Regions from separate parts of the Homo sapiens genome. Here region 1 is linked to region 2. The links are contacts of gene promoters, found by promoter capture Hi-C in blood cells and fetal thymus (Javierre and others, 2016). All regions are on one chromosome and are shown on one strand. The core of a region is centred on a gene start or on the middle of the fragment in contact, and the rest is flanking DNA. Distances in the headings are between cores, read along the strand shown.

Region 1 (5,072 bases), core at 2,541-5,040, 590 kb after region 2:
CTTTGCCAAATTTTTGAATTAAATCATAGACTTGGAATTATAGGGTGGAAGAATATGGATATTTTGGTTATTCTTATTCTATTACAAGATTGCTTTCTAGAAATTCTGTTATCTGTTTACACTCTCAGAAGTAGAATGTGAGTTTCTGTCTCTATGGTTTTATTAAGTAACATAATTTAAAAAATAATTTGTTGATTTGATGAAAATGAAAACAGAAATGGTATTTCATTGATTTAATGAACCTTTCTTTTTGTCTGGTAAGTCTGACTTTCGAAAACCTATTTATTAATTATTTGAATATCCAATTTTATAAATTGTCTACTATATATTGGGGTTTTAATGTTTTTCTTATGAATTTGTAAGAGTTCTATTTTATTGCCAAAAAAATTTTCCCTAGTTTCTTACAGTTTAATTTTTATGTCAAACTTATTTTCAAAATGGGAATAACTCTTTTCCTGGTAATTAAAATAACGGGCTGTCATGGTAAAAAAAAATAACATACTATAGAAAATTATACAGAAAAAAGTAAAAATCTACATTCTACCCCTTGAACTTGTACTAACATTTTTAGATCATTTCCTCCCAAACTTTTATCCTATGTTTTTATGGTATTTTCTGAAGTTTAAGAATTCTAATTTTTATGTACCTCAAAGCAAGCATTTTAAAATTTCAATATATTCTCCAGTGCTTTTGTGTTTAGAAATATCTTTTTAATCTAGCGATCTGATAAAAAATCACCTCTAAAAAAACAGAGCTGTGATTCTTTTTTTTTTTGAGATGGAGTTTTGCTCTCGTTGCCTAGGCTGGAGTGCAATGGTGCGATCTCGGCTCACCGCAACCTCTGCCTCCTAGGTTCAAGTGATTCTCCTGCCTCAGTCTTCCGAGTAGCTGGGCTTACAGGCATGCACCACAACGCCCGGCTAATTTTGTATTTTTAGTAGAGACAGGGTTTCTCCATGTTGGTTAGGCTGGTCTCGAACTCCCAACCTCAAGTGATCCGCCTGCCTTGGCCTCCCAAAGTGCTGGGATTATAGGCAAGGCATTATGTCATATTATAGAATATTAAGGAAATTAAGGGGGAAAGAAGTCAGCCTTAATGCCTGGACCCTAACACATCTGCTTCCTTTATGCATTGTTCTTTCAAGACATTGATCATGAGCTTTTAATTTATTTTAATTTATTTTTATATGGTTGCAAGTACAATTTCCTATCTTTTCCTTTCCTTCATAATTATGCCCTAAGCATTATTTTCTTGTTGCTACGTAGTCTCGGTAATGGTTGTTTTAAATGATTCCCAATGGCCCCTCCTGTGGCTGTGCTGTCACAGCTGACCCCATCCCTCTAATGAACACTTCCGTTGCTTCCAATTTTTCTGTCAAGCGATATTTAGAAACACCAGAGTCCAGTGAAGCAGAATCTCCCACTGTTCCCTGGGGGCTGACTGTAATGCAATTTGACTTTGCTCATTTCCTCCTTTCCTCAGAGGAGTGTTGGAAGAAATCACTTTTAGAGAATGGTTAGAAAAACGACCAACAGAAAATGAGGAGGAAGGAGATCATGAGCTGAAAGCATGTTGAGCTTTTAGGAGGAAGCTGCTTTAGAAGCCCAGACTGTGTAGGTTTTGCTTTTGTGACTCACAAATCGGGCATGAGTTTATAATAATTTTGACAGATGCTTTTCACTCATGCAGCGCTTGGTGCTTTTGAGGGCATTGGTGCAGGAAGGCTTGATGCAGAATCTCTGCTTATCATTTGCTGTCTGTGTGACCTACATCAGCGGCGCCTCAGTCTGTCTTCCTGCAGAATAAGAATACAGTCAGCCCTCTGCATCTGTGGGTTGGGCATCCATGGATCCAACCAACTGTGGACTGAAAATATTTGGAAAAATACAATAAAAAGTAAGACTACAACAATAAAATAATATAAATAAAAAACAAGGCCGGGCACGGTGGCTCACACCTATAATCCCAGCACTTTGGGAGGCCAAGGCGGGAGGATCACGAGGTCAGGAGATGGAGACCATCTTGGCCAACATGGTGAAACTCCGTCTCTACTAAAAATACAAAAATTAGCTGGGCATGGTGGCACGTGCCTGTAGTCCCAGCTGCTCGGGGGGCTGAGGCAGGAGAATCACTTGAACCCGGGAGGCAGAGGTTGCAGTGAGCCCAGATTGCGCCACTGCACCCCAGACTGGCGACAGAGTGAGACTCTGTCTAAAAATAAATAAATAAATAAATAAAAAATACAGCGTTAACAACTATTTACATAGTATTTAAATTGTATTAGCTATTACAAGAATCTAGAGATAATTTAAAGTATTTTGGAGGATTTGTGTACGCTATATGCAGATACTGTGTCAATTCATATGAGGGACTTGAGCATCCCTGGATTTTGGTATCCACGGATGTGCTGGAACCAGTCCCCTGGGGGATACCGAGGGACATCATGATAATAGGCCCGGAAGAGGACAGACGAACACACTGGGCCATGGGGCAGCACTGAGCGGTGGTGGAAGAACCCCGAGTAGCCGGAGAAAGAGCAGGAGGGCCTTCCAGGGAAGAGGGAATGGCCTGTGTGAACCCAGGCTGAACCTCTCATTCCTGGGACTCGATTTCTCCATTTGTACAAACTGCTTGGTTTGTGGTCTGCAAGAGCCCTTCCTGTTCCTCCAGGAAGCCTCTCAGGGACCTCTGTCCCTGGCCAGCTCTGCTCCTCTGACCGCTGCGGGTCCTGCAGGCCATAGCCCTGGCTCCTGTGTGTGCACCAGACACGTCTAGGCCTCTTCAGCGGGACCTATCTCTCTGCTCAACTCAATCAACAGTTCTTTAGAAATTTCCAGGGGCAGCAAAGTGCTGTAGCCCCTGACATGTTTTAGGGCTGAATGGGGGTGGGTATCAGCAGACTCAATACGTATTTATTAACTTAAAAGAAGTGTCATTGGTCTATTGGCAAAGCTGGTTAGCAATAACCTTATCTTCTCCAGGAATAATGATCACTAATCATTCCTTCCTGCTGGGGGTAGGAGACAACCCGGCGTATGGTGGTGGAGCACCTGGGAGACAGAGGCAGAGATCTCGTTCCTCGATCCCGGCGCGTTGGTTGTAAAGTAGGAACAGTAATAGCACCTACCTCTAGGGCCACGGAGACCGAATGAAATAATGCCTGTCAAGTCACTTAGTACACAGTAAGCACTCAGTAATGCTAGGTTGTTGTTATTATAATAAATTTTTAGCGAACGGGAAGACCAAGCACCGGTTGGTACTGGGCTAGGCGCCGTAGGCAAAGATGTGGAGATGTCCCGGAGGCGCCTAGGGTATCCGGGCGAAAACCCGAGGGCCGAAGGCTGGGAGGAGGCGGAGCGTCGGGCACCGGGCACCGGGCACCGGGCGGGAGGTGAGCCCCTGGAAAAGGAGGGGGCTCCGGGCGCGTTCTCCCAGCAGCCGCGGCTCCTCTGTTCAGGGCCGCGCCCCCTTCGCCGCACTTTCTCTTTGATTTCGAAAGCACTCCTCTCCTCCACCTAGTCTCCTTTCCTGGGTTGCAGGAGATTACTGCTTGCGGGGAAGACCAAGACGCCAGGCCGGCGGATTAGTCCCCGCCCCGGGGCGGTGCAGCTGGAGCGTCAGGGGAGTCCCGCTCGCCGCAGCCCCAGCGCCGCGCGCGCCCCTCCCTCCTCGCGGACCTGGCGGTGCCGGCGCCCGGAGTGGCCCTTTAAAAGGCAGCTTATTGTCCGGAGGGGGCGGGCGGGGGGCGCCGACCGCGGCCTGAGGCCCGGCCCCTCCCCTCTCCCTCCCTCTGTCCCCGCGTCGCTCGCTGGCTAGCTCGCTGGCTCGCTCGCCCGTCCGGCGCACGCTCCGCCTCCGTCAGTTGGCTCCGCTGTCGGGTGCGCGGCGTGGAGCGGCAGCCGGTCTGGACGCGCGGCCGGGGCTGGGGGCTGGGAGCGCGGCGCGCAAGATCTCCCCGCGCGAGAGCGGCCCCTGCCACCGGGCGAGGCCTGCGCCGCGATGGCAGAGATGGGCAGTAAAGGGGTGACGGCGGGAAAGATCGCCAGCAACGTGCAGAAGAAGCTCACCCGCGCGCAGGAGAAGGTGAGCGAGCCGGAGCCCCAGCAGCCGCGGAGTCCCAGCCGCCGCGGAGCCCCGGCCACCTGTCCCCCTATCCTCCGACCCCGGGGCCTGGTCCTTCGCCAGGATCTGGTGCTGTCACCTCTAGAGGAGCGCTTTCGAGGGGCTTCGAGGTCCCCAGGCTGCGTTCCCCGGCGCTCTGGGTGCCCTCTTAGGTTTGCGTCCTCTGTCTCCCCACACCCGGCCGGGGCAGGACAGGGCCCCGCTTTGCACCTTCGTGGCTCGGCTGCACAGCAGTGGCCGGCCCTGCTCCAGGCTCTTCTCAGGCGCGCGCTCCAGGCTACCCCGCTTTGGAGGCCAAGGGCCGGGAGGCTGGGAGGCCAGGTGGTGACCCTCAGCTCTCCAGGCCCATGCAGGCAACCTAGGCTGGGCCGGCGCTCGGGGCGAGAGGGAGTATGTCCCTCTGCCCCTGGGGACACTATTCCCCCGGACTCCCAAGGCTGCTTCTCGAACCGGCACCCACAGTTCCTTCCTTCCCACTGCTTCTCCACTTTCGTTCTCCGTGGGCCGAAGGAGGGATTGGGTTTCCTTTCCCGAGAGGTGCCTGCGGCCTGGAAGCTCCCGCCCAGCCCGGCCCCACCGGGAGCCCAGGGCTACGCACCCCGCAAGGAGGTGCCCTCGCCCCAGCAGGGGCTTAGCGTTTCCGGCGGCCGGGGAGCGGGTGGCGGCACTGGCTTTGGGAGCCCACGGCCGGGTGGGGAGCTGGCCTGGAGGAGGCGCGTGGAAGGCGCCACAGGAAACCCGACCCCTCCTCGCGGAGAGCTGGAATGGGGGATGGAGCCGGGGCCTCCCAGGGTGCCCAGAGCGTGCAGGAAATGCAGAGATTGAGGGGCGGGGGTCTGCACCCGGTCAGTTGTCTATCCCAAGCCACCTCTGGTTTATTGAATTGGATCACGCCAGCTGCTGACGCCACTTCCCCTGACGACTCCAACTCTGAAATCTGAGATTGCAG
Region 2 (4,976 bases), core at 1,582-4,081:
AAATTTTCATTTTACCTTGAAGCTCTACTGGACTTGACAGATCACATTTTGAGAGTGAATTCATTTAAACAATAAACCTCTACATTATACTTATTAAATATATATGGCATTTAAAAACATCACTGTCAGCATACATACTAGATGTTGTGATTTGAAGCTTATAAAAAGTAGATTTTCAATGATGTTTGATTTGAGAAAAAATTTTTGAGACAAGGTCTCGCTGTTGCCTAGGCTGTGGTGCAGTGGTGTGATCACAGTTCACTGCAGCCTCAACCTCCTGGGCTCAAGTGATCTTCCCACCTCAGCCCCACCCCAAGTAGCTGGGATCACAGTTGTGTGCCACCATATCTGGCAAATTTTTTGAAGATTTTCTGTGGCGATGGGGTTTAACTGTGTTGCCCAGGCTGGTCTTGAACTCCTGGCCTCAAGTGATCCTCCCGCCTTGGCCTCCCAAAATGCTGGGATTACAGGTGTGAGCCACCAGCTGAGAAATGTTGAATTTTTAAGTTTTTATTTAAGAAATAAACATTGTAAAACATCATTATAAAACCCCCAACTATTGCAAGTTCTAGAGAAATTTAAAACTAGAACAGAAATTTAGGGGACTAGAAAGAGCAGCCAATGGCACAAGTCTTTACAATTAATTAAAAAAATAAATCATTCTGAAGATACTGCATTTGCTCTCTCACAAGCAGCCTCCTGAGGTAGGTAACCTTGTTTACTGATGGGGAACAAGGCAGTGTTCTTTACCAAATCTCAGGGCGGGTAGCCTGCAAGCCTACAGTGTGGATGTTGGCCACTTGTGTCACTTCTTGGGACGGGGCTTAGGGACCTGACTTACTTAGGAACATAAATTTTGGGGTTGGAGGAAGCAGCAGTGCTCTACTGCGGCACGACAGACACCCTGTTAAGGCAACACTGGGATCCAGCTCAGGAAAAGCATTACTTTCAAATTGTGCAAGCCAATGCACAGAAAAGTGGTCCTCAAACTTGGGGAACGTAGAATCACTTGGGGAGCTTTAAAAAGGTCCTGATGTCTGGGACCTACTTCCCAGGTTCTGACTGCATTGATCTGAGGTGTGGCTCTTCAAGTAACTGATGTGCAGTCAAGCGCGAGGACCACTGGCACACAATGTTTAAATTCTAAATATATTTTACTTCCTAGTGTATTGCTACTGACAAAACGTAGTTTTCTGGACTCATCAGAATGTTAGGCTCATACCTTCTGGCAATAAATTAAGGTAGTTAAAAGTAACTGCTGAACCTAAAATGAAGGCAGCAGCAATTAGATATAAAAAAATCTTAAGATCAGCCTGCAAATTGTAAACTAGTTTACAAAGCAGGCTATACAATGAGGAATAATTCGAGCTTGTAGAAATCCATGGTTTCCACCAGATACAGGTATTCCGGATCTAGAATTATCTTTCTATTTGCAGGATTTCCGAAGAGACCGTTAAGCATCTACGCGCCCCTTCCTGGATCCCATGCTTCTTGGGGCAGGAAATTTCTTTTGGTCCGTCGCTTTCGTCGTGAAATACACAACTAATTTTCCTTTCATGTTATAAGGCACCATATTTATGATTTTGTTAACTGAAGAAAAAACCCGAGATAAACCATCTTAAGTACTTTTAAAAGTCCAGTGGCTGAATTCGGTGTTTAATCTGATACCCTTCTGGATTCGCTGACACTGGAGAGAATAATTTCCAAGTCTTAGTATAGCCAAAACAAAAAACTACCGTCGCTAAGCTACATCTACCACTGGATTTTAAAATGACAAAACAGCCTGAGAAAAATCACAAGAGCAGCTAACTCGAAGAAAAATCCTTTTTCTTTACTCAGCCGAACCTAAGACCACAGTTACTTCGAAAGCAACTTCTAATAACCGTCTCACATCCTGTCACCAGTTCAATGACAAAATCTCAGTTTTCAGAGCGTGTGCCAAGTCCAGCACAAAAAGCTGACATCGAGGAGCTCCCAACGCTGCTGTCGCCTCCGCTGGCAGCAGCCGCTCCCGGATTAGACTCGCAGGCTGTTAGGGCAGGGCCTTCGCCACGGGCTTCCGCACAGCGGCGTGCAGTCCTCAGCTCGGCCGGCGCGGTCTCCGACGGCGCTGGCTCCGCGTACTTCCCCAGCGGCGAGGGCGCGAGGTCCTCACACGGGCAGCACCTTGGCGAGGCCGGCGCCGCGGCCCAGGCGACCCAGTGCGAGGCGCAGCGCGGTGCCGCCGCCCCAGGGCAGCAGCCCAACCAGCGCGGCCAGCAGCGCGGCCACCTGCGCGCCCGCGCCCAGCACCGTGAGCAGCGTGCTGCGAAGGCCCAGCGCGGCGAACAGCGTGGCGCCCAGCGCTGCCATGTAGAGCAGCGCGGGCCGGGACGGCGCTTCTTCGCAGCGCAGCAGGCGTCCGCACGCCGCGCCGCCCCGCAGCAGCGCGCTTCCCGCCAACGCCAGCGCCGAGCCCAGTGACCAGAGCAGCGCGAACTTGCGCGCGCGCAGCAGCAACACCGGTGCGTAGAGCGCGGCTAGGCCGAAACACAGTGCAGCCAGCAGCAGGCACCCGCCGCCCGCCGCCAGCCGCTGCCCGCGCGTCACGCTCGGGAGGCACGTCAGGCCGGCCGCTGCCGACTCCGCAGGGCTCCGCGCCCACGTCCAGCGCAAGCCCGCGCGGCCCAGCCACTCCTCCGCCGGCCGGTCCCCGGGCTCCTCCGCCTTCTCCGCGGCGAGCAGCGGCTCCGCGGCCGCCGGGCCGCCAGCTTTCCCCTGCGCCAGGTACTCCTGCAGCTGGCGGTGGAGGTCCGCCATCTTGGACAAGGCGGTGGCAGAAAGGAAAAGCTGCGGCTCACTTCCGGCCCTCCGCTGAAGCGGTTCGGTCTTCGGGCGGCAATTGGTCGGCGACGGCGAAAGGGGCAGGGCCTGCGGCGCTCGCGGAAGTGCCGCGGTGCCTGCTCTGCGGACTTTTGTGGTGTCCCCAAGTACCGTGGTCGCAGGTGCTGCCTGTCCGCTTGCAGTCGCCCTCCCAGCGCCTGACCCTCTTCCTTGTTCGGAGTAGGCGCCCTTGCGGTCTGGCTAAGTCCTGCCAGCATTAATAGTTGGAAGGCAGGGGTGGGTGTGGTTCTAAAGGGGCACAAGAAGTGACCCTTTTGCTGACGGAAATGTCTTATGGCCTCACTGCGTCTACCGTGGCGGTGATATTGTGCTAGTTTTGCAACATGGAGGAATGGGTAAAGGGTACACAGAATCTCTCTTGTTTCTTACAACTGAACACAAACAGTGATCTCAAAATAAAAATTTAATTTTTAAAAAAGTTCAGACCTGTGTAACTCAGGTGGGTTTTTTGGGGAAAGTTGCGTTCTGATTAGTTACCTCACTTGTAGTAATAGTGACCATCCTGATCATTTACCATGGGGTTGATAAAGGAAGGGTTGACACCCAGCACCCTCAACCTGCTTCTCTATTCTGTTCTCAGTTTCGGCCACAGGCCTGGCAACATCCTTGACTCCTTCGCGCCCCTTGTCCAAGACTCGGTGCTGCTGTCCCATGTGTTTGGTGTCACTCTCGTGCTCTGGACAGCGCCACGCCCAGGTGTCCTGACTCATCGTCACATCACTGTGACAAGCTGGCTCGCACGCAGGTCAATCCTGATCTGTTCCCAGGCCGCACCCACGTGCCCTGCTGTTTCTCAGAGCCTCCTAGAGGGTGTTTGCTTGTGGTTCCTCTCACAGGTCAGATTCCTCCAGATTCTTCCAGCTGCCTCCACAGCTCCCCTCACCACCTTGGCTTCCCCTGGGTGGCCCTGTGTCCTTTGTCCTCTGCCCTAGGTGGATGTAAGGTTAACGGCTTCCTGCTGTTTGGCTTCTCAGCCTTTCCATCCCCTGTGTGTAACTAATCTCCCCCATTAAGTTCCTTTTAATGCTTTCTGTTTTCTTGGTTGGATCCTGGCAGATGCAATTCTTTTTCAAAATATATTCTGATTTGTTATCTCACTTGATAATAATAGTGACCAGCCTGATCACTTAGCATGGGCTAAACCATTAGGATGGCTACAATCAAAACAAAAAAACAAAAACACACCAGAAAGTTACAAGTGCTGTCAAGGATGTGGAGAAACTAGAAGCCTTGTGCACCGTTGGTGGGAATGTAAAATGCTATATCCGCTGTGGAAAACAGTATGGAAGTTACTATAAAAAAAAAATATATATATATATATATACACACACACACACACAGACACATATAAACGTATATACACACATATTTGTATACAGTTATGTGTGTATGTGTGTATATAATTACAATCCAATCCAGCAGTTCCACTCTGGATATATACCCCAAAGAATTGAAAGCAGGGTCTCAGAGATTTGTATAACTCTTCACAGCAGAACTATTCATGTCAGTCAAGAGATGGAAGCAACCCAAGTGTCCACCAGCAGATCAATAAAATGTGATATATGCATACAACGGACTGTTACGCAGCCTTAAAAAGGAAGGAGATTCTGACACATGCTACGACATGGATGAACCTTGAGGACATTAGGCTGAGGGAAATAAGCCAGTCACAAAAAGGACCAATACTGCATGATTCCACTTCTGTGAGGTACTTAGAGTAGTCAAATACACAGAGCTAGAAAGTGGACTGGGTGCATAAATGCCCATCAGTGATGTTACCTAATCATTTATGCAGCTACCGTATAGAAAAGGCAGGAGTGTGCTGCTCATTTTATAGGTGAGGGAAGCTGAGAAATACCAAGAAGTGAGGTAACCTACTCAAGGTCACCTACAAAACTGACGATAGGGCAGCGTTAGGTTGTGATTCCTGGTTTCTAACCTTGTGGGCTTCCCATTGCAGAAAGAGGCCTTCACTGAGGGTCCCTCTGTGTGAGCCCTGGATGCGCTTTCTGCTGTGGTTTGGTTGCAGGGAGGGAAGGTCATTAACAAAACCCACTCTCCTCTAGCACTGCAGCAAAACTCATCCTAACAAT

What was found. The method cuts DNA at HindIII sites, captures the fragments that hold promoters and counts their contacts. A CHiCAGO score of 5 or more calls a contact.
Region 1: a contact is called between the fragment with the promoter of BIN1 here and the fragment with the promoter of SFT2D3 in region 2, in 8 of 17 cell types (total B cells, total CD8 T cells, M0 macrophages and 5 more). The highest score is 8.3, in total B cells.

Annotation. Positions count from the first base shown.
Region 1 is chr2:127,105,872-127,110,943 of GRCh38, reverse strand. BIN1 (bridging integrator 1) reads left to right here and starts at 3,790. Exons shown (of 19, transcript NM_139343.3): 1 at 3,790-4,084. The coding sequence starts at 4,001. LOC105373605 (a long non-coding RNA gene) reads right to left here and starts at 3,799. Exons shown (of 4, transcript XR_923311.4): 1 at 3,129-3,799. RefSeq lists silencers at 3,663-3,722, 3,557-3,851, 3,733-3,942. The HindIII fragment of the contact is 12,156 bases long and covers 3-5,072 here.
Region 2 is chr2:127,699,352-127,704,327 of GRCh38, reverse strand. SFT2D3 (SFT2 domain containing 3) reads right to left here and starts at 2,831. Exons shown (of 1, transcript NM_032740.4): 1 at 1-2,831. The coding sequence starts at 2,799. The coding sequence ends at 2,152. WDR33 (WD repeat domain 33) reads left to right here. Exons shown (of 22, transcript NM_018383.5): 22 at 1-3,301. RefSeq lists a silencer at 2,073-2,752 and enhancers at 3,072-3,593, 3,513-3,882, 3,594-4,115, 3,110-4,309. The HindIII fragment of the contact is 7,289 bases long and covers 160-4,976 here.